Regions from separate parts of the Homo sapiens genome. Here all the other regions are linked to region 1. Evidence: promoter capture Hi-C in 16 types of primary human blood cells and fetal thymus (Javierre and others, 2016). All regions are on one chromosome and are shown on one strand. Each heading gives the region's core, a stretch centred on a gene start or on the middle of the fragment in contact. The rest is flanking DNA. Distances are from core to core; before and after follow the strand shown. Region 1 holds the start of CXCL8 (C-X-C motif chemokine ligand 8). Region 2 has its middle 27 kb from the start of CXCL2. Region 3 holds the start of CXCL5 (C-X-C motif chemokine ligand 5). Region 4 overlaps MTHFD2L (methylenetetrahydrofolate dehydrogenase (NADP+ dependent) 2 like). Region 5 has its middle 14 kb from the start of CXCL3. Region 6 has its middle 18 kb from the start of CXCL5. Region 7 has its middle 4.6 kb from the start of CXCL3.

The links. The method cuts DNA at HindIII sites, captures the fragments that hold promoters and counts their contacts. A CHiCAGO score of 5 or more calls a contact.
Region 2: a contact is called between a fragment that was not itself captured here and the fragment with the promoter of CXCL8 in region 1, in 6 of 17 cell types (neutrophils, monocytes, M2 macrophages and 3 more). The highest score is 10.1, in neutrophils.
Region 3: a fragment that was not itself captured here is called in contact with the fragment with the promoter of CXCL8 in region 1 in 3 of 17 cell types (megakaryocytes, neutrophils and M0 macrophages); the score reaches 12.0 in megakaryocytes.
Region 4: a fragment that was not itself captured here is called in contact with the fragment with the promoter of CXCL8 in region 1 in 3 of 17 cell types (monocytes, megakaryocytes and neutrophils); the score reaches 7.7 in monocytes.
Region 5: a contact is called between a fragment that was not itself captured here and the fragment with the promoter of CXCL8 in region 1, in 7 of 17 cell types (megakaryocytes, neutrophils, monocytes and 4 more). The highest score is 19.9, in megakaryocytes.
Region 6: a fragment that was not itself captured here is called in contact with the fragment with the promoter of CXCL8 in region 1 in 6 of 17 cell types (neutrophils, M1 macrophages, M0 macrophages and 3 more); the score reaches 14.5 in neutrophils.
Region 7: a fragment that was not itself captured here is called in contact with the fragment with the promoter of CXCL8 in region 1 in 7 of 17 cell types (megakaryocytes, M1 macrophages, monocytes and 4 more); the score reaches 23.9 in megakaryocytes.

Annotation. Positions count from the first base shown.
Region 1 is chr4:73,739,254-73,742,173 of GRCh38, reverse strand. It overlaps CXCL8 (C-X-C motif chemokine ligand 8), which reads right to left and starts at 1,605. Exons shown (of 4, transcript NM_000584.4): 1 at 1,452-1,605; 2 at 497-632; 3 at 142-225. The coding sequence starts at 1,515. RefSeq lists a silencer at 2,848-2,920. The HindIII fragment of the contact is 2,023 bases long and covers 1,577-2,920 here.
Region 2 is chr4:74,070,986-74,073,752 of GRCh38, reverse strand. No RefSeq gene overlaps it. Among named protein-coding and RNA genes, the nearest start is that of CXCL2, 27 kb to the left of the region's middle. The HindIII fragment of the contact is 2,937 bases long and covers 1-2,729 here.
Region 3 is chr4:73,996,504-73,999,380 of GRCh38, reverse strand. CXCL5 (C-X-C motif chemokine ligand 5) reads left to right here and starts at 704. Exons shown (of 4, transcript NM_002994.5): 1 at 704-908; 2 at 1,043-1,175; 3 at 1,286-1,369; 4 at 1,726-2,877. The coding sequence starts at 800. The coding sequence ends at 1,744. It overlaps LOC124900715 (a long non-coding RNA gene), which reads right to left and starts at 1,153. Exons shown (of 2, transcript XR_007058140.1): 1 at 19-1,153. The HindIII fragment of the contact is 1,301 bases long and covers 639-1,939 here.
Region 4 is chr4:74,163,450-74,166,409 of GRCh38, reverse strand. All of the region lies in intron 1 of MTHFD2L (methylenetetrahydrofolate dehydrogenase (NADP+ dependent) 2 like), which reads right to left. Among named protein-coding and RNA genes, the nearest start is that of MTHFD2L, 6.8 kb to the right of the region's middle. RefSeq lists an enhancer at 1,495-1,624. The HindIII fragment of the contact is 3,104 bases long and covers 1-2,960 here.
Region 5 is chr4:74,051,096-74,053,987 of GRCh38, reverse strand. No RefSeq gene overlaps it. Among named protein-coding and RNA genes, the nearest start is that of CXCL3, 14 kb to the right of the region's middle. The HindIII fragment of the contact is 884 bases long and covers 991-1,874 here.
Region 6 is chr4:74,014,767-74,017,653 of GRCh38, reverse strand. No RefSeq gene overlaps it. Among named protein-coding and RNA genes, the nearest start is that of CXCL5, 18 kb to the right of the region's middle. The HindIII fragment of the contact is 4,022 bases long and covers 1-2,887 here.
Region 7 is chr4:74,032,555-74,035,552 of GRCh38, reverse strand. No RefSeq gene overlaps it. Among named protein-coding and RNA genes, the nearest start is that of CXCL3, 4.6 kb to the left of the region's middle. The HindIII fragment of the contact is 810 bases long and covers 1,143-1,952 here.

The DNA.
Region 1 (2,920 bases), core at 356-2,855:
TGATGCTATTCCTTTTTTTTTTAACCAAAAAGGCAGATACCTAATGACGATTTTTAGCAACAGAAAGAAATTTATAGGCTGACTTTGGATTATATGTCTCAGGATAAATGAAAAATTTAAATTAAAAAATATATAACTTACCTCTTCAAAAACTTCTCCACAACCCTCTGCACCCAGTTTTCCTTGGGGTCCAGACAGAGCTCTCTTCCATCAGAAAGCTTTACACTGAAATAAGAAAGAAATGGTTCAGATTAATATTTAGTTTTTGCATTCAAATCATGATTCCTTAAGTCAGGCATAAAGTCTAAGTCCAAAATAACATTTATAGTAGTTGTGGAAGCTACCATATTTAAATGTCATGTAGACAAATATTTTTATTTTGTTTTGTTTCATTTACTACTGTAATCCTAACACCTGGAACTTTCCTAAATATTTCCACCTTCCTTAATTTTAAGTTTGCTAAAACAAAATATCTAATCTTTTTTAAAGTACTTACATAATTTCTGTGTTGGCGCAGTGTGGTCCACTCTCAATCACTCTCAGTTCTTTGATAAATTTGGGGTGGAAAGGTTTGGAGTATGTCTTTATGCACTGACATCTAAGTTCTTTAGCACTCCTTGGCAAAACTGCACCTGTTGGGGGAAAAAGTGATTAAGGATTGATTTTATCAACAGGCACAGCTCTGCCAGCTACTTCCTTTCTAATTCCAATATGATTATTTGGAGACTATGGAAGGCATCATGTTTCTAGTGAACTCATTCCTGAATATTCTCCTAGCCCTTGACCTCAGTTAGTTCTTTGTTTTAAAAAACAGTCATAACTGACAACATTGAACGACTTCCTATATAAAGAGTTAGAGTTCTTTTTGTACAATATCAACATCTTCATGGTATTTTTATCTGGTCAATATTGCATAATCCTCTGTGATACCACAGTGTTATTTATAGTAGGCAAGCTAAGACTCTCCAGCATAGAAATTGCCTTCAGAAAGAATTAACAGAAATATATAAATAAGTTATACATGCCTGGTCTATAATCAGGGTATCTTTAAACCAGACAGGAATTAATGACAAATCTGAGGCTTGTCAATGAAATACTACAAGGAGTGGAATTGTCTGAGTTACCTTGCTCAACTCAATATTAATACATAATATAGGTAACCGTGGTTCTCAATAGGACATACTATAAATTACTTATTTACGTTAAATATATGCATGCTACATGGTATAAATTATAAAAGCAGAATATCTATATTGATCAAACTTTATACTTTCCTAAGTGTTATATATAGTTTTTTCTAAATCTTCAATTTAACATTAATTGACTGCTAAGATTATATTCTGTTTCTGAATAAAAAGGATGTTTGTTACCAAAGCATCAAGAATAGCTTTGCTATCTAAGGATCACATTTAGACATAGGAAAACGCTGTAGGTCAGAAAGATGTGCTTACCTTCACACAGAGCTGCAGAAATCAGGAAGGCTGCCAAGAGAGCCACGGCCAGCTTGGAAGTCATGTTTACACACAGTGAGATGGTTCCTTCCGGTGGTTTCTTCCTGGCTCTTGTCCTAGAAGCTTGTGTGCTCTGCTGTCTCTGAAAGTTTGTGCCTTATGGAGTGCTCCGGTGGCTTTTTATATCATCACCCTACTAGAGAACTTATGCACCCTCATCTTTTCATTATGTCAGAGGAAATTCCACGATTTGCAACTGATGGCCCATCCCCTCAGGGCAAACCTGAGTCATCACACTTCCTATTTGTTCCTTATCAAATACGGAGTATGACGAAAGTTTTCTTTGATCTTTAAAATAATTTAATTTTAATATACATTTAAAATACTGAAGCTCCACAATTTGGTGAATTATCAATTGTATGCTTTTTTATTTCTAGATAACTTTATCATAGTACCATGTGACAGATATAGTACTAGAGTGGCAGGTGTTAGAACAAGATCATGGATGATTTTCTTTTAATGGCATAATTATTTTTTTTCAGTTAATTACAGATGCTATCATGATGGTGAAGATAAGCCAGCCAATCATTTTATTGGGGAGGTAATTTAAAATAAATCTTTTTCTAAGCATTTTAGAGAGTTTCTAGGAACTGTTACTGCTCTTAGGGGGCATACTACAACTTTTCAAAAGATTTAGTTTTCTAATGCATGTTAACAGAGTGAAGGGGCACATGTGCTTCACATAGAAATCAGTTCCACAAACATTTATGGAGTAACTTTCTGAGTAATGTGGGGGATCTAGAAATAGATAAGACTAGGTACTTGTCCTTAAAGAGTTTGGTCTATCAGAAGAAGAAAGCAATGTAAGGACTGACTATATAGCAGAATAGACAAGTGGTACTAAGACATTAATTCCAGTGGAGGCATAAGAGCAGAATCTTCCAAAGGCAGTTGGAGCAAGGCATTGAGGAATAGGAGGGCTTCAATAGAGGAAGATGAAAGAGAACAGCACATTCCAGATAGGAACAGTATTCAAGGCCACTCAAGTTGTAAAGTTAAGGTATGTTTATGCTCCAGAAAGTGGTGCACTGGAGCTGCTTGGTTGGGGTGGGAGGGAGGTGTTATCTAATGGAAAGTTGTATGCTTAGTGGAAAGAGCATCTGGGTTCCAACTCTGGTTCAGCCACTGTTGCTTCATGCTCTTTATCCAAGGACACCAAGTCTGACCTCTGAGGACCCATGATCACTAGCAAAAGGGATGGAGTGAGAAATTTCAACAAATCATAAAAAGGTGGCTTTATGTCCTAGTGTCCTGAAGAAAAGAATCCAAGACCTTTCTTGAAAGGTCTTGGATTCTGTAGATAAAGAGCACCAAGGAAGGGTTCTTATGATAGTAAAAGTCTGTTCGCTTCTGGGCAAGTACATAATTTATAAATAATTCACCTTGGTGTAACAGTTCTTCATTTTCAG
Region 2 (2,767 bases), core at 12-2,511, 330 kb before region 1:
CCCTAATCCCTAGTACCTCAGAATAAGACTGTATGTGGAAATGAAGTCTTTACAGAGGTAACCAGGTTAAGTGGAGTTCATTAGCATGGTCCTGAATTCAATTTGACTGGTGTCTTCCTAAAAAGAAATTAGAGCACAGACAACACACAGACTGTGGGGTAACCATGTGAAGACAGTGAGAAGATAGCCATCTGCAAGCCAGGAAGGGAGGTCTTAGGAGAAACCAAACCTTCCAGGACCTTAACCTTGGATGTTCAGCCTTCAGAACTGTGAGAAAATATACTTCTGTTGTTTAAGCCACCCAGTATGTGGTATACTATTATGGCAGACATAACAAACAAATACATCTCTCAAATCATAGACCCATCCCTTTCCAAGAATTAATCACTATTTTGAATTGTGTTGTTTCTTGCTTTTCTTTGTAGTTTTACCATCTAGGTATGAATCCTTAAACAATTATGTATTTTGCCTGCTCTTAAACTTCAGATCAATGGAATAATGCTGAATGTATTGTTCTGTGACTTGATTCTATTATTTAACATTATGTTTTGCAACCCATGATTTCGATATGTTTAGCTGTTCATTTAATTTTAGTAATTCCACTGTAGGAATATGAAGTAAGTAAATGCAAAATTCATTTATCCAATCCTTTGTTGGAGCGCACTTGAGTTCTTTTCAGATTTTGACTATTGCTGACATTCTTTATGTGTTTCCTGGTTCATGTTATGTAAGAGTTTCTCTAGGAATTACTTGCTGTGTTTAGGCTTTGCATGTCATAAATCTTACCAGTTAATGCCATGTGGTATCACAAAGAAGCTGTACCAATTGACACTACTTCCTGCATAAAATTATCTGTTGTTGCACATACTGGTCACTACCTAGTATTGTCAATCTGATGAGTATGTAATGGTACCATGCTATTCTTTTAATTTTCATCTCTTTATTATTAATTAGATTGAATATTTTTATATGCTTAGGAGCATTTGTGTTCTCTATTTTGTAAAATTTGTATTCTTTTTTTTACTTTTCTTATTTGTATATTATCTTGTTCCCATTGGCACACAGGTGTTCTTTATATATTCTGGATGTTAGAACCTTGTCAATTTTATAAGTAAAAAACTAGTTTTCCAATTTACAACTCATATAGTCTTTCTTTTTATAGTGTCTCCAGTGAACGTAAGTTTGTATTATTATTCTACTTGAATTTAGCAATATGCTCTTTTCTGATTAGCAACTTTGGTGTCTTCTTTCAAAAAGAAAAAAAAACTTCCCTTTACAGTTCATAAAAATATTCTTCTATATTATCTTCTAAAGTTTTCATAATTTTTTCTTTGTGTTTAAGACATGACTGTTTATGGAATCTATTTTTGTATTATGTGATGGAATTATCCAATTTTATTTTATTTTTCCACATGACTCATTAATTGTTACAGCCCTATTTAATAAAACATCATTTCCCTACTGATCGACAATGCTATTTCTGCCATAAATTGAGTTTTGCAACTGAAGTCCTGCAAGTGAAGGAATGTTTCTAATGTCTCTTTTCTGTCCCATTGATCAATTTGTCTATACATATACACAGTCTTCATTATTAATATTTTATAATAATTTTTAATATCTGGGATGGAAAATTCTTTCATGTTGTTCAAGAGTAGCCTGTCTTTTCTTAGACTTCTGCTCTTTCATATAAATCTAAGAAATAGCTTGCAAATTTGCACTGAATTAAATTATAATTTTGAATGGAATTTCTTTGAAGTTATAAATTAATTTTTAAATTATTGACATCTTTATCCTGCTGAGTTTTCCATTTTAAGAATACAAACTAACTGCCAATTTGTTGAGGCCTTATTTAATGTCTTTAAAGTTTCATGATTTTCTCCATAAAGTCATTCCATATTTTTTATTATAAAAAAAGATTTCTTGCCACTCTATATTGTTTGATGTTATTGTAAAGGGTATCTTTATAAAATATAACTTTCCATCTATTAGTGTTTAAACATAAAATTTTGTAGTAGTTTTGTAACCAACATTTAACTAGAGTAGTCATATCACCTGAGGATAATGACAGTTTAGTTTCCTTTTTTGGAAAACTTATGCCTTTTATTTATCTCTTTAGCTTTGCTGAGATGTCTGCAATAATAATATACACTCTTTTCTTGTTTTGGCCTTTAAAGGGATTACTTTCAAGATTTCATCATGTATGATATTTTGTGGCTATCCTTGTATTGGTTATTTGCTAAGGATTTATCATTGTATTATTATTAATTTTTATAATTGAATCTTGTTGTTTTCTTAAACCCTGGAATGTTCACCCCTGGCTCAGAGTGTGCTAAGATGATACAATCCTGGAGATGCTGGTGAAATTTTTTTTTTTAAAGATTTGGAAAAAAACAAAGGTTCCTATGGTTCAAAGTCAGCTTCATTAAAAATCTATATCCAAGCTATACGTATGTTTTAACAGCCTTTATGCTTATTCTTTTCTTACATCTTGTTCTTTTGAGAACAATCATTTTTGTTTCCTCTCAATCATCAGAATCGTTTCTCCAGTCTTTCTTCTTTCCACTGCTGATGCCCACAAGAGAGGATCTAAGGTAATTTCCGACAGCCTGGGACTTCTTGGGAAAAACCGAGGAGGAGCCACAGACCCAGTTTTGGGAAAACCCTCTGTTTTATCCTCATGGAACTCTAGGAATTGTAAGCAGATAGGTTTCTCTCAAAAATCTAAAGCTTTGCTCTATTTTACATTGTTACCCGACCTTTTGACTTT
Region 3 (2,877 bases), core at 40-2,539, 260 kb before region 1:
CTCAGTAAGCGGACTTACCAAAGTAGGTGATCTGTAGGGGAGTTAACAAAATTCAGTGGTCCTTTCAGGCCACTGACTTCAAGTGGCAAGAGACAAGGGTCTCTTGTTATCATGTTATCTTGGCTTCCAAAGCTGGTTGAAGTCCAGAGATTCATAAAGTCATTCAAGAAACCTAGAATGACCTGCCTGCAAGGAAGACAGGAAGGACTTTCAGTTTATAGCAATTCAAACATGAATAACATTTCCTGATTAATAGTAATAATAATTAGAAAGGATTGACTTTCAGAAATTTTTCTCAAATCAAGGCTCCTGTTACTTTGGTTCCACCTTTTCTCTCTAGAAGGAGAGGAGGAGCATCTCCCAGAGGGCTGCGTGCCTCAGAAAAGCCGGCATCCCTAGCCCGCTCTGGCACAGGCCATGAGGCCCTGCTGAATCCTGCTGAATAGCTACTCCCTTCTAGCTGGAGCCACAGCTCCCTCCACCGCGGAGCAGGGTTACAACGTCCCTCTCGGTAGAGGTGCACGCAGCTCCTCCTGGCCACCCTCCCCACCAGTTCCCATTGTCTGGCCCCCCTCCCCCAACCTCTTCTTTCCACACTGCCCCATGAGTTCAGGGAATTTCCCCAGCATCCCAAAGCTTGAGTTTCCTGTCAGTGGGGAGAGATGAGTGTAGATAAAAGGAGTGCAGAAGGCACGAGGAAGCCACAGTGCTCCGGATCCTCCAATCTTCGCTCCTCCAATCTCCGCTCCTCCACCCAGTTCAGGAACCCGCGACCGCTCGCAGCGCTCTCTTGACCACTATGAGCCTCCTGTCCAGCCGCGCGGCCCGTGTCCCCGGTCCTTCGAGCTCCTTGTGCGCGCTGTTGGTGCTGCTGCTGCTGCTGACGCAGCCAGGGCCCATCGCCAGCGGTGAGAGCGCATGGCGCGCGGGACGCACTCGCACTCGGGCACAGAGGTGCATCCCAGCCTCTGCGGGGTCGCTGCGTTCCAGGGAACTCTCCCAGCAACCTGCCCTATAAAGGGTGTCTCTCTTTCTTCCCCAGCTGGTCCTGCCGCTGCTGTGTTGAGAGAGCTGCGTTGCGTTTGTTTACAGACCACGCAAGGAGTTCATCCCAAAATGATCAGTAATCTGCAAGTGTTCGCCATAGGCCCACAGTGCTCCAAGGTGGAAGTGGTGTAAGTTCTGTGCTGCTGTGTCCGCTGTGACCTTGGCAAGAGAGAAATCCCGCAGCCTGGGTCTTCAACCTTGGTATCTCATGAGTGTATCTTCTTTTTCTTTCCTTCAGAGCCTCCCTGAAGAACGGGAAGGAAATTTGTCTTGATCCAGAAGCCCCTTTTCTAAAGAAAGTCATCCAGAAAATTTTGGACGGGTACTTGTCACTTTGATCTTTGTGGTTTCTAAATCTGATCTAGGGAGACCATAGACTTCACAAGGTCTTTATTCTCTGTACGATTTAAGTAACACTTTTCATGTTTAGAATTAAAAGGTTGTTGAATTGGGAAAGTTTTTCTGGATTGTCCTGGGAAAATATACCAATCTTACATGTAATTACTTGAGCAATTACACACAGCTTGTCACTAAGTTATGTTTTTTGTTTACCCATTGCTTTTATTGATTTTTGTATTCTCCTTTTTTACCAAACATCATAAACGCTGAGTTTTGACAAGGGTGGAGTAGAAAGGAGTGTGAAAAATGGTTAAACTAATATAACATTTTTCTCAACAGTGGAAACAAGGAAAACTGATTAAGAGAAATGAGCACGCATGGAAAAGTTTCCCAGTCTTCAGCAGAGAAGTTTTCTGGAGGTCTCTGAACCCAGGGAAGACAAGAAGGAAAGATTTTGTTGTTGTTTGTTTATTTGTTTTTCCAGTAGTTAGCTTTCTTCCTGGATTCCTCACTTTGAAGAGTGTGAGGAAAACCTATGTTTGCCGCTTAAGCTTTCAGCTCAGCTAATGAAGTGTTTAGCATAGTACCTCTGCTATTTGCTGTTATTTTATCTGCTATGCTATTGAAGTTTTGGCAATTGACTATAGTGTGAGCCAGGAATCACTGGCTGTTAATCTTTCAAAGTGTCTTGAATTGTAGGTGACTATTATATTTCCAAGAAATATTCCTTAAGATATTAACTGAGAAGGCTGTGGATTTAATGTGGAAATGATGTTTCATAAGAATTCTGTTGATGGAAATACACTGTTATCTTCACTTTTATAAGAAATAGGAAATATTTTAATGTTTCTTGGGGAATATGTTAGAGAATTTCCTTACTCTTGATTGTGGGATACTATTTAATTATTTCACTTTAGAAAGCTGAGTGTTTCACACCTTATCTATGTAGAATATATTTCCTTATTCAGAATTTCTAAAAGTTTAAGTTCTATGAGGGCTAATATCTTATCTTCCTATAATTTTAGACATTCTTTATCTTTTTAGTATGGCAAACTGCCATCATTTACTTTTAAACTTTGATTTTATATGCTATTTATTAAGTATTTTATTAGGAGTACCATAATTCTGGTAGCTAAATATATATTTTAGATAGATGAAGAAGCTAGAAAACAGGCAAATTCCTGACTGCTAGTTTATATAGAAATGTATTCTTTTAGTTTTTAAAGTAAAGGCAAACTTAACAATGACTTGTACTCTGAAAGTTTTGGAAACGTATTCAAACAATTTGAATATAAATTTATCATTTAGTTATAAAAATATATAGCGACATCCTCGAGGCCCTAGCATTTCTCCTTGGATAGGGGACCAGAGAGAGCTTGGAATGTTAAAAACAAAACAAAACAAAAAAAAACAAGGAGAAGTTGTCCAAGGGATGTCAATTTTTTATCCCTCTGTATGGGTTAGATTTTCCAAAATCATAATTTGAAGAAG
Region 4 (2,960 bases), core at 208-2,707, 420 kb before region 1:
GTCCTTACAAGAGAAGACACAGAGACACATAAAAAGGGAAGTGAAGACAGAGAGGGAAGACAACCATTTAACAACAGAGGCAAAGACTGGAGTTATGCAGCTGCAAACTCCTTAGGAACACCAAGGACTGCTGGCAATAACCAGAAGCTAGTCGACAGAGTGTGGGCCTACAGATACTTTGATTTCAGACTTCCAGCCTCCTTCCACTGTTTCCAGTGTGAAAACAGATTTCTGCTGTTTCAAGCTAGCTAGTTTGTGGAACTTTGTATACAGCAGAATTAGTAAATAAATACATCTATAATAGCAATTTTAAATAGTTCAATGTCTGAGAATAATCTTCTGATGGAACTCATATTTTTTGTTGAATAAAATTTCCTGGAATAAATTACCATTTTGTAAAACATTGGAATACAATTGAGAAAAACTTTAATTTTCCCCTATCTAAATATGGTAAACTATTTTTAAAATCATACACAAAAACAACTTATTTCTTTTATCTAAATATTTGTCAAAGAAAAGTACTTTGAAAAGATACACCAACATAGCACCTGTGAAAATATTTAGGCTAAAATATCTTCCCATTTCAATGTGCAAAATGTAGAATTAAGACTGTTCCATTTAGCAGTTTATGTGGTGTTTCAGCATCTATAGAGACAGTACCTTTAAAACTAAAATAACCATTGTCTAAAGCAAAGATTCTATTTGCAACTGTTAAGAAAATTGCAGAAAATTTAATTTTAAAATTAAGCACAAGGGCCGGGCCTAGTGGCTCACGCCTGTAATTCCAGCACTTTGAGGGGCCGAGGCGGGTGGATCACGAGGTCAGGAGTTCAAGACCAGCCTGACCAATATGGTGAAACCCCGTCTCTACTAAAAATAGAAAAATTAGCTGGGCGTGGTGGCATGCACCTGTAGTCCCAGCTACTCGGGAGGTTGAGGCAGGAGAATCACTTGAACCCAGGAGGCGGAGGTTGCAGTGAGCCAAGATCACACCATTGCACTCAGCCTGGGTGACAGAGAAAGACTCTGTCTCAAAAAAAATAAACAAAGCATAAGATCTTATTAACTTTTTTCAGAAAATTATCAGGATCAAGGTGTTAAAAGATACAGCTAAGAAACTGATTCAAGCATGTGAATATGCACCAGGAATAATTGTTCATGCTGAATGTTCATGTAATATAAATTTTTATTTTAACACATAAGGATATAAATTATCTTTTAAAATGTTAATTTTGAAAATGGTCTGAAACTATTCTATAAGTTCACTAATATATTTGTAAGCCAATAGATATTCCAAATATATAATTTTCATTACATTCGTGCCCCTTTTTACTCTAAAAAATGTGCTAGTTTGGCCAAAAAAATTACATAGTGACCTTGCCATTAATGCATATCAAAAATAAAATCCATTTGACCCCTTAGATATTGTTTACATGATGTGCCCTGTCATTACTTGCTCAGGTGGTTTCCCACAAAGGCAGAAATGACCTTCCCCTAAAGGCAAGAAAAGGTGCCCTCCCTTCCAAAAGCCCAGCCTACTGCTGGGCTAGCCACGAAATGTGGCTTCATCAGGAGGCAAAAATTAAAGAAGGGAGGTGGTGGCTAGTGAGTAGCAGGGCAGCACTATGTAGTACAAACTACTCACCTGAAATTAGAAGTCCTGAGCATCAGAGCTCTGGGTTACCATTAGTAGCAATAATAAAGTTAGGCAAGTCACTTAGCTTCTCTCAACGGCATGCAATTTCTTCATCTATATAATGGGAATACTCTCTTGTTGACCTTACATTACATAAGAGGATTTGGCTAAAAGTTCATGGGCTGGTTTGCAAAAGTGGCTCTTTCTCTTAGTTTCTGCTAAATTACAGATGGAGACATATTTCGATAACCAGAAACATTATGAGAGCAGAAAGTCTTCAGCACTTAGTGCTGTTTCCATGGGCTTGTTTACTTGTACTTCCAGAAAATAAACTAACCACCTTATCTACGCTTATTAGAATCAAATGATTTATTTAATAAACTAGAGCAAAATAACAAAGGGGGAGGATTATTTCTATGTATCAAAATACTCTTCCACAAAAAAGTAGCTTACCAACAAATAAAACCTAGTCAAGATCAAGAGTTTATTTAATTCGTATACTTGGCAAATCCATATCTTAGTTTCAATCTCATCTTTATTCACGACTTCAACTAGAGCTGCAATGAACCATTTTATCTCTATAATGTTGAAAAAACCTGGCCAGGCATGGTGGCTCACGCCTGTAATCCCAGCACTTTGGGAGGCTGAGGCGGGCGGATCACGAAGTCAGGAGATCAAGACGCATCCTGGCTAACACGGTGAAACCCCGTCCCTACTAAAAATACAAAAAATTAGCCGGGCGTGGTGGCGGGCGCCTGTAGTCCCAGCTACTTGGGAGACTGAGGCAGGAGAATGGCATGAACCCGGGAGGCAGAGTTTGCAGTGAGCCAAGATCGTGCTATTGCACTCCAGCCTGGGTGACAGAGCAAGACTCTGCCTCAAACAAAAAACAAAACAAACAAACAAAAAAAGACGAAAAATCCTAATAGAATGATTAACAATTCCAAGCTCTACCCAGGCCCTAACATACAGTTTAATTGCTTTATATCTTAGGGCATATCTTCGATGTCTTGAGTTTGTACAATAGAAATGAAACCCCCCAAAAACAGGGCAAAATTCCATAGGGAATAAAACCAATCACCAGTATAGGGAGTCTTTTGAAGTGTGTTATTAAAATAAATGAATACCTGCAAGTGTTAAGTTTATGACCTCTTTAAAAAAATTTGTTTCATACCCCAAGTACCCTATTCACATCTTGAAGTAATTTTACTAGAAATTACATCTGCAAATCAATAAAAAGTAAAATACCTTTTCATTATATATGACTCTTCTTCGTATCCAGTTTTTTAACTAGTTAACTTTCTGACTCTGTACTAAACAATAT
Region 5 (2,892 bases), core at 183-2,682, 310 kb before region 1:
GATTTTGAAGTCTTGACTTTCTCAGATTCTTATTTATCCAGGATACTTATTCTTACTGTATTAAAATTTTGATCTAAGTTCTATTCTGTTTCAAAAATCTCATTTTATTCTGAGAATGCTGGATAAAAGATAACAGAAAGAAGGTGAAAATAAGCAAGCCATGCTTCAATATATAATATATGTTTTACCCCCAATCCTTGGCTAAACATTGTAGTGCACTTTCCCTTTATTTATTTGAAAATTTCTATTGAAACACATCTTTGTTGATTTTTCCAACCCCACTCTACTGTAAGACTAGACATGCTGATGATAATAAACAGATTTAATAATGGTTAATGATATTAGGAATCACACAGAGCCCAGCGCAAAATACTTGCTCAATAAATTTTTGTTAGTATGTTCAGGAACTTAATAGGGTCTTTTAGTGTCTTAGTGCTATTATGTCTTGCTTAAAACATCTTCTGAAAGTTTCTTCTGATGTTTGTTTTAGCCTTCAAACCCTAAAAATAATAAAGTTGTAGAATGTAAGTCTTGTGAACTCTGCTTTTTTACTTTAAAGTGTATATATTTACCCCTGGTAGAATAAAAAATAGATGATGGAAATGAATTAATGTATCCCATTAAAAAACCTGTGATATTTTTTGAAACAAGAAAGAAAGAAAGGAAAAAAAATTCTTGAGGTTAAATGTTTTACCCTGACATGTTTGTATATATTAGCATTTAGTTAACATCTACATGGTTACAATTCTAGCATTAGTATTGACCTTGTAAGTAAGTACAATGTAGAACTTAACCTTTACTAGACTACTAATTCTTTTTTTAATCAACAAAATTTCCATTCATTTCTTAACCCCTAAAATTTATACCTACAAAATTTTCATTAACAAAATTAATTTTGTTACTACAAAAGTATTAACATAAGAATAACAATTTCTATTTATTTGTTGTTATATATTATTAATTTGAACATAATTGCTGTGGATAAAAGCTTTACTTCTTCCCTTCTCGTTTTGTTTCACACTTTGGTATTTCACAATATGGCCAACAAAATTCACAAGTTATGATCTGTATCATTCTTTATATAGCATGATAATAGTTCAAATTTATTAATCACTTTTAATATGCCAAGCATATAAAGTGTTTTGCATGCAGGAATAAACAATTTTATGAGATAGTTATGACCCAGCTAAAAGCACATCCTCTCCAGTCAGAATAATGGGCTAACCTGGCTCCACCACTTGCAAGTTCCGCAACAGCTATTGGGTTGGATGCAGATGCTCAAAAATGCAGTACTTAATAATAGGACTACATTCTGAGAAATGCCTCATTAGGTGATTTTGTCATTGTTCGAACACCGTAGTATGCACTTACATAAATCTAGATGGTATAACCTATTGTACACCTAGTGTAGTATAGGGGACATTACAGATACAACTAATGATGTTTACAGCCAAAGTAATCACACAGACTATGGTACTCCATGCACCCAGAATCAAAGCCAAAGTACTTGACCCACCAAACACCATAAATACATCTTCAGAAAAAAGTTATCCCCTACTAAAGAAAATTCCAAAATAGGAAAATTTCCTTTTATACCACATACCCAGAAATCAATATAAGGATACAGGAAACATAAAAAAGCAAGAAAATATAACACCTCAAAAGGAAAACATTAATTCTCTAGCATATATCTTGATCAAAAAGAAATTTTCAAAGTTCCAAATAAGGAATTCAAAATATTGATTTTTTAAGGATACTCAGTGATATTTTCGAGAATTCTGAAAGACAATAGAAATAAATTTTTAAAAATCAGAATGCAAATGATAAATTTACTGAAAAGGTAGATATTTTTAATACAAACCAAATAAAAAGCTTAGAACTTAAGAATTCATTAAAGGAAATATAAAATACGTTTAAAAGTGTCAATAATAGGCTAGCTCAAGCAGAAGAAAAAATGTTAAAATTTGAAGACAGGCCTTTTGAAATAATTCAGTTAGATAAAAATAAAGAAAACATAATAAAGAAAGAGCAAAGGCTTTGTGATATTTGAGACAATATAAAATGAAAAAATAAACAAATTATCAGTATACCTGAGGGTGAAGAAACAAAGAAAAGATTAGAAAATCTATTCAATGCAAAAATAGATGAAAATTTCCAAATCTAGCAAGAGATTTAGACATTCAGATTCAGGTGGTTCAATGTGCCCAGACAGATAAAATGCAAACAGGTTTTCCCTATGGGTGTCTAAAGTCAAAGTTAAAAACAAATTCTAGAAACAGCAAGAGAAAAGTGTTCAGCTACCTATAAAGAAAACCCCATCAGACTAACAGTGGATTTCTCAACATAATACTTCCACATCAGAAGAGAATGGGAAGATATACTCAAAATGTTGGAGGAAAAAATCTTCCACCCAAGAATACTACATCTAGCAAAATTTTCCTTTATAAATGAAGGTGAGATAAAGTCATTCACAGAGAAACAAATGCTGAAGGATTTCATTACCACTAGACTAGCTCTGAAAGAAATACTCAAAGGAATTCTAAAGCTAGAAGTGAAAGGGTGACATTTACCATCATGAAAACACACTAAACTATAAAACTCACTGGTGAAGCAATCATACACAAGAGGAAGGGAAAGGATGCAAATGATAACACTACAGAAATCCACCAATCCACAAGAGAAAACTATAAGACAAAAAGAAAGGAACAAAGAATATATAAAACAAGCAAAAAATAGTTAACAATATGACAGGAACATAGCCTCATATATCAATAACAACCTTGAACATAAATGGATTAAATTCTGCTCTTAAAATATATAGAATGGCAGAATAAATTTAAAAAACATGATTCAGCTATATACTGCTTACGTGAAACTCACCTTGCCAGTAAA
Region 6 (2,887 bases), core at 271-2,770, 280 kb before region 1:
AGCCCGCCTCAGTCTCCAAAAGTGATGGAATTACAGGTGTGCACCACTACACTCGGGCTACTCTGTCCTCTCTTTATCTTTCTCTGCTTTCCTTTTTTCTATTTTTTCACACAGCATATGAAAAACTTTCAAAGAGAAAGAAAAATCATTTTACTCTTTTGTTAAAAATCCCCCAAATGGCATTTTATGTCACTTAAAGAAAACCGAAAGTTCTCATCACACCCTGTAAGGCACAACCCTCCAATATTACAGTCCCTGACTACTTGTTAATACCGCTCAGCCACATTGCTACTTAAATATACCAAGCAAACTCCTGCCTTGGAATATTTGAACCTGTTTTTCTCTATGCCTGGAATATTTTTTTTCCAGAGCTGCATAATTTTTCCTTTACTTCTTTAAGGGTTTTGCTCAAATATCATTGTGTTAGAGTCTTTCTCAGATCACTCTATATAAAATACATATGTAAACCTATATACATCCACACACACAATCTTTTTTTTCTTATTTGTCAATTGTCAGCTCTAATAAAATAATTACTCATCAAGAGAAAATCTTTGGCTTATAGCTATATCTTCAGTGTCTTTAGCATTGCTGGGTATTAGTAGAAACTCAAAAAAAGTTTTGAGGAATGATTGAATGGTATACAGAGAAAGGAGATGGTGGACGAGCTTGGCACAGAGAACCAGATGGGTGGCAGGATGCTGGAAAGTGCACAGTGGCTTCTCTGACATGTCTGCTTGTCATTGGAAAAAGATCAAATTCCCATCCCTCTTCTTGGTAGGTGAAGCTGTGGACATGCAAAGCCAACCTTAGGAGAAGCAATGAAGAATAGCAGGCAGTGGTTACCTGTATGGGCTCTGCTGTCAGATGGCCTGGTTTTGAATTCCAGCTCCATCAATTTCCTGCGTGACTTCAGCCAAGTCACTCAACCTCTCTTAAACTCTATAATCTTATCCAGAAAAATGGGCAAAAATAGCTGTTGGGAGGATTAGGTAAATATAATTCATAAAACACACTTGGAACAAAGTAGTTGTCATGAAATATTAGTTGTTATTATATATGATAAGGTGCAGTGGGCTAGTGTGGAATTATGAGAGAAAAAGAAAAAAAGAGATTTAGAAAACTCAAGACATTGAGCTTATTCTGCCACAAATGTTTAGATAAGGAAGAGCTTTCTTGTCTGTTAAAATACTTATTTAGAGTAAAGGGCAAGTACAATACCAACAACTATAATCTTTCTAGTGTTGACCTAGCTAGACCTTTATATTTCATGAACAGAGGTAAGATTAATCAGATGAAATGCCAAATGAAAAGAGGAAGACAGTTGAGTAAAACAAAAAGTGTGATTTAGCAGAGGATTTAGTGCGTCAAGTTATACCACATCCTGTTAGTCTTTTATGCCATTATCCAGTGTTGTGTGTCCCAGCAGCATAACAAAGGTTAAGAACAAGTTTATTCAACATCAGCAATGATTGCCAGAGGGAAGCAACTCACTTTAGTCAACATGGCTATCAAATGACAAAGAAAGGCACAAGTGAGAAATCTGTTTACAACCCTGGCATTTGGAGACACAACAGATGAATTATAGCATTTTGTAGATATTGAATTATATTTTTACATTCACTCACAATACTTGGAGTGAAGAGATCAAAAATTCTGTTAGAACAAATTGTAATGCATTTTCTCTCTTGTTTCTATTTTTCCCCACTTCTCCAATATACTTACATACTTTTAATAGGTCGGTAAATCTCCTAAATATTAGCTCACATCCAATCATACTGTTTAGAGAGCTTCTATGATTCATAAACATGCCTGAATGGATTTGGAGCGAATTCACAATTTCAGTATTTACCAAAATGTTAAATACTATGATTTGTATCACAGGTATCAACAGAGCTAAAGTAGCCAGATTAGTAAAACTTCTCTGAGAAATGGCTGATCTCAGTCATGGAAATGCATAATTGGGCATTAATATTGTTTTTACTGGAGATCTCATATTTGGCACTCTAACACCTCATACTGCAAATCAACAGGCAGCTCATTCTTACCTCTGTCATTAAGTATCAGGGGTTTTCCGTAAAACTCAATGTTAGATGCATTGACCAGTAACAAATGAATCTTTAAGTCAGACACTGAAGCAGATCAGTATCATGGTTAAATTTGAAGCAAACATTTCACTGTAAAATTCAAGGTTTACATCATATCTGATATGGGACTCTAGGGAAAGATTTTGCTCAGAAAGAGAAAAGAAGGGTGGAGTGAACACCTTGGAAAGGCTCCCTCTAAGTATGTACATCCACAGAGAAAAAGGCCTAACCTCACTTCCTGTTATGGATGTCAACTGTGGTGTAAACCAAAGAACTATCAAGCAATCAGCTAGGGCTCTAGTAGGATGAAGTCCCGTCCCAGACTTGCAGCTGAGAGGATTCACTCCCCGGATAGGCCTTTTGGTGATAAAAAGAGGAGAAAGAATGAAATGAATGAGGTTTCTTTGAGAATAAATGAGGAGGACAAGCCTCTGGGGCTGTTCAATCCTAAACACAAGGGAGTGTTGACCTAGACACTGAGGCAAGGAATGGTGATGAAAGGGCAGGATGGAGGCAAGGACGAAACACACTACCGCAGCAGGTGATCTCCAGGTGGTGCATTCCTGGGTTCCGATGAATCAGACATAACTGGGGGAACTTGGTTTCAACCACCTGGAAACTAAGGCATTAGAAAACAATGAGAATATAAATTCATGTGTCATTTCTAGGAAATAACTGACTTTTTAACTTAATAACATGTCACATACCAAATGTCCACCTAGCTTCTTACAGTCTCTAAAATGTGCTAGGTTTAAGATTTTGTGTATTTTGGGCTCATAATGATATTTTAGGCACAGAGG
Region 7 (2,998 bases), core at 298-2,797, 290 kb before region 1:
TATAATCACAACAAGGACATCATAAAAATCTGAACTGATTTTTATGGTGGTAAAACTGATGGACGTTTTACAAAACTCCTCATAAGTACTCTTCAACCTGTCAAGGTCATGAAAAACAAGACAAAATCAATAAATTGTCACAGATTAAAGGAGACAAAAGTGATATGGGGACTAAATACAATGTGGTATGTTGAATTGGATCCTGGAATAGAAAAAAGGACATTATTGGAAAATTGATGAAATCTGAATAAAGACAAGAGTTTAGTTAACAGCAATGTACCAATGTTAATTTCTTAGTTTTGTCAAATATACTACAAGTATGTAAGATGTCAACATTACGGGACACTGAGCTAAAGGTCAGATATAGAAACTCTCTGTGCCCACACAAATTTTTTGTGAGTCTAAAATTATTCCAAATTTAAAAGTTTATTTTTCAAAAGATAGGACAAATATAATAGCAGATAGTAGACTTAGATACAACTATATTAAGAATTATAGTAAATTTAAGCAGAATAAACACTCCAATTAAAAGTCAAAGATTATCAGACTACATAAATATGACATGTTTATGCTTCTTAAAAGAGACACACTTTAAATTATATCTAGATAGGAGGAACAAATTCTAGTGTTTTATACCACTGTAGGATGCCTATAGTTAAAAGTAATAGTTTCAAACAGCTAGAAGGATATCAAATGTTCCCACACAAATAAATGATAAATATTTGAAATGACGGATATGCTAATTACCCTGATCTCTTCACTATACATTATATATAGAAACATTACTATGTACCCCATCAATATGCACAGTAATTATGTGTCAATTATAAAAATACAATAAAAGTAAAAACAAATTGGGCACCAGGTTGCTTGAAATTAAAAGAATTAATAGTGTTATATCACATACAAATGGGCTGACATGGATATATTACTATATTGAAACCTGACCTGGATATATTAATATATTTATTACTTAACTATTAATATGCTATTCATATAAATTATATTTATTAAAAATTGATATACTAATGAAGGCCTAATTAATATATTATGCCTTAAGGAAAGAAATAGTCTTGGAGATAAAAAAGACTGTTAAAAATAAAAAGGGGTTAACTAAACAAGAGACAAAACATTCCTAAGCTTTTATGAACTTAGAAACACATTATCAAATTATATAAACTATTTGTGAGGCTGAGGTGGGAGAATCAACTGAGCCCATGAGTCTGAAGCTGCAGTGAGCTATGATCATGCCACCGCACTGCAGCCTGGGTGACAGAGCAAGGCCTTGTCTCTAAAGAAAAAAAAAATTCACACACACACATAAAGCAAAATGAAGAGATCAAAAAAGAGCAATAGACAGATATATAATCATAGTTACAGATTCTAACAAACTCTTTCAACACTTAATATGTAAAGCAGCACAAATTTAGTAGCAGTATAGAAGTGTTAAGCAACATAAGCAACCAACTTGGTTTGACTGACATATATTGGCAATTTACCCAGCAATTGCATAAATCACATTTGTCTTTCCAAAGAGAACATAGATGAGTCATAAAAAATGTATCAATACATTTCAAAATGTTAAAACATTACAGAAGACCTTTTCTGATCATCAAAGTTTTTTAGGATGATTTGTAACTGTCTTAGTTGAACTATGTATTCATACACTGTGTGTGATATGTTTGCTGTGGTTTATAACTCATCTCAACTTCCTACATTGTGCTTCCATAATACCAGAGTCATCATGATGACCAATATAATCATCTAGTATGATAAAAATGTTTCCATAGAGATGTTTGCTTATTTCCTGTATTTTTTCTGACATATTCTTTTGTAATTTTGGCATTCCTATATTTCTTGGATTACATGATATGAGCATAATGTAATTTAATTACTCAATACCTTCCACAAAAGTTTAAACAACAATCTCAAGAAAAGGCAAATATAAAGCTTATACTAAAAGCTAATTTTTAAAAGTTTTGGAATGATGTTCACATCTATATATTAGATGGTGTTTGGTGTTATTTCCAATAAAGTTAAATAATTATAGTTTGTTGAAATCATCAGTATGTCTTTACTGCAGAATTAGAAGACTAGCAATGTTGCAGAAGGAAGTGTGCAAGTTAAGAATCAAAGAAGAATTTCATGTTTAAGTTTTGGCTTTATCCACTATCTTTTACAAAACTCACCACAATCCCTTTTGTGTTGTATGCATCTAGTAAATGTCTTTTGAATTTAATATCCACCATTCCTCATTTTCTACACATACATTGAACCTATAGGTTACTCTTGCCTTCCCACTCTCCCTGTGGTAGATAGTCAATAAAGGAATCTGTCCACAAGGGACATGGAAGCACCATGAGACACACGTAAAAGCTGCACAGCTATGGTAACATCCAAACTGACAGAGAAGCAGGATCCTACAGGCACATGGCCTCCCATGTGGAATCCTGATCGCCCCTCCTGCCTCACTTGCTCTCCTCTCCCTGCCCACAGGATGAACTCCATCTACCTGAGTCACTTGCTGCTTCTAGGACTTCCATGGACTTTCCAATCTTCATGCCTTTGATTACTTGGTTGTCTCCTACTGGAGCGTTTTCCATTCCTCAGTGTTGTCCCATCTACTTGGAAAACTCTCCATCCTTTAAAACTCACATAAGTAACGATTTCTTGTAGGAAAACCTCTGTAACACCTCTCAGAAACCCACTCATTAACCCATAAGAGTTGTATGAGATATTCATCCTTACTCCTAATACTTTGTGCATAGTTTGTCATGGTATTTACCAGGCCCTTCTAAAATCTTCTATTTGTACATTCATCTCCTGTATTGTGTTGAGAGTTAGAAGGTAGCAGATTCTATATTAATTGTCTTTGTATCTATGGCACCTAATTTCATTCCTATGTTACAATGCTGGGAAAATGATCAATACAAATGCTGAATCAAATGAAGAGAGGAATTAAATTCAAGTTGAAATGCCCTTCTGGTTAGAAAGATAA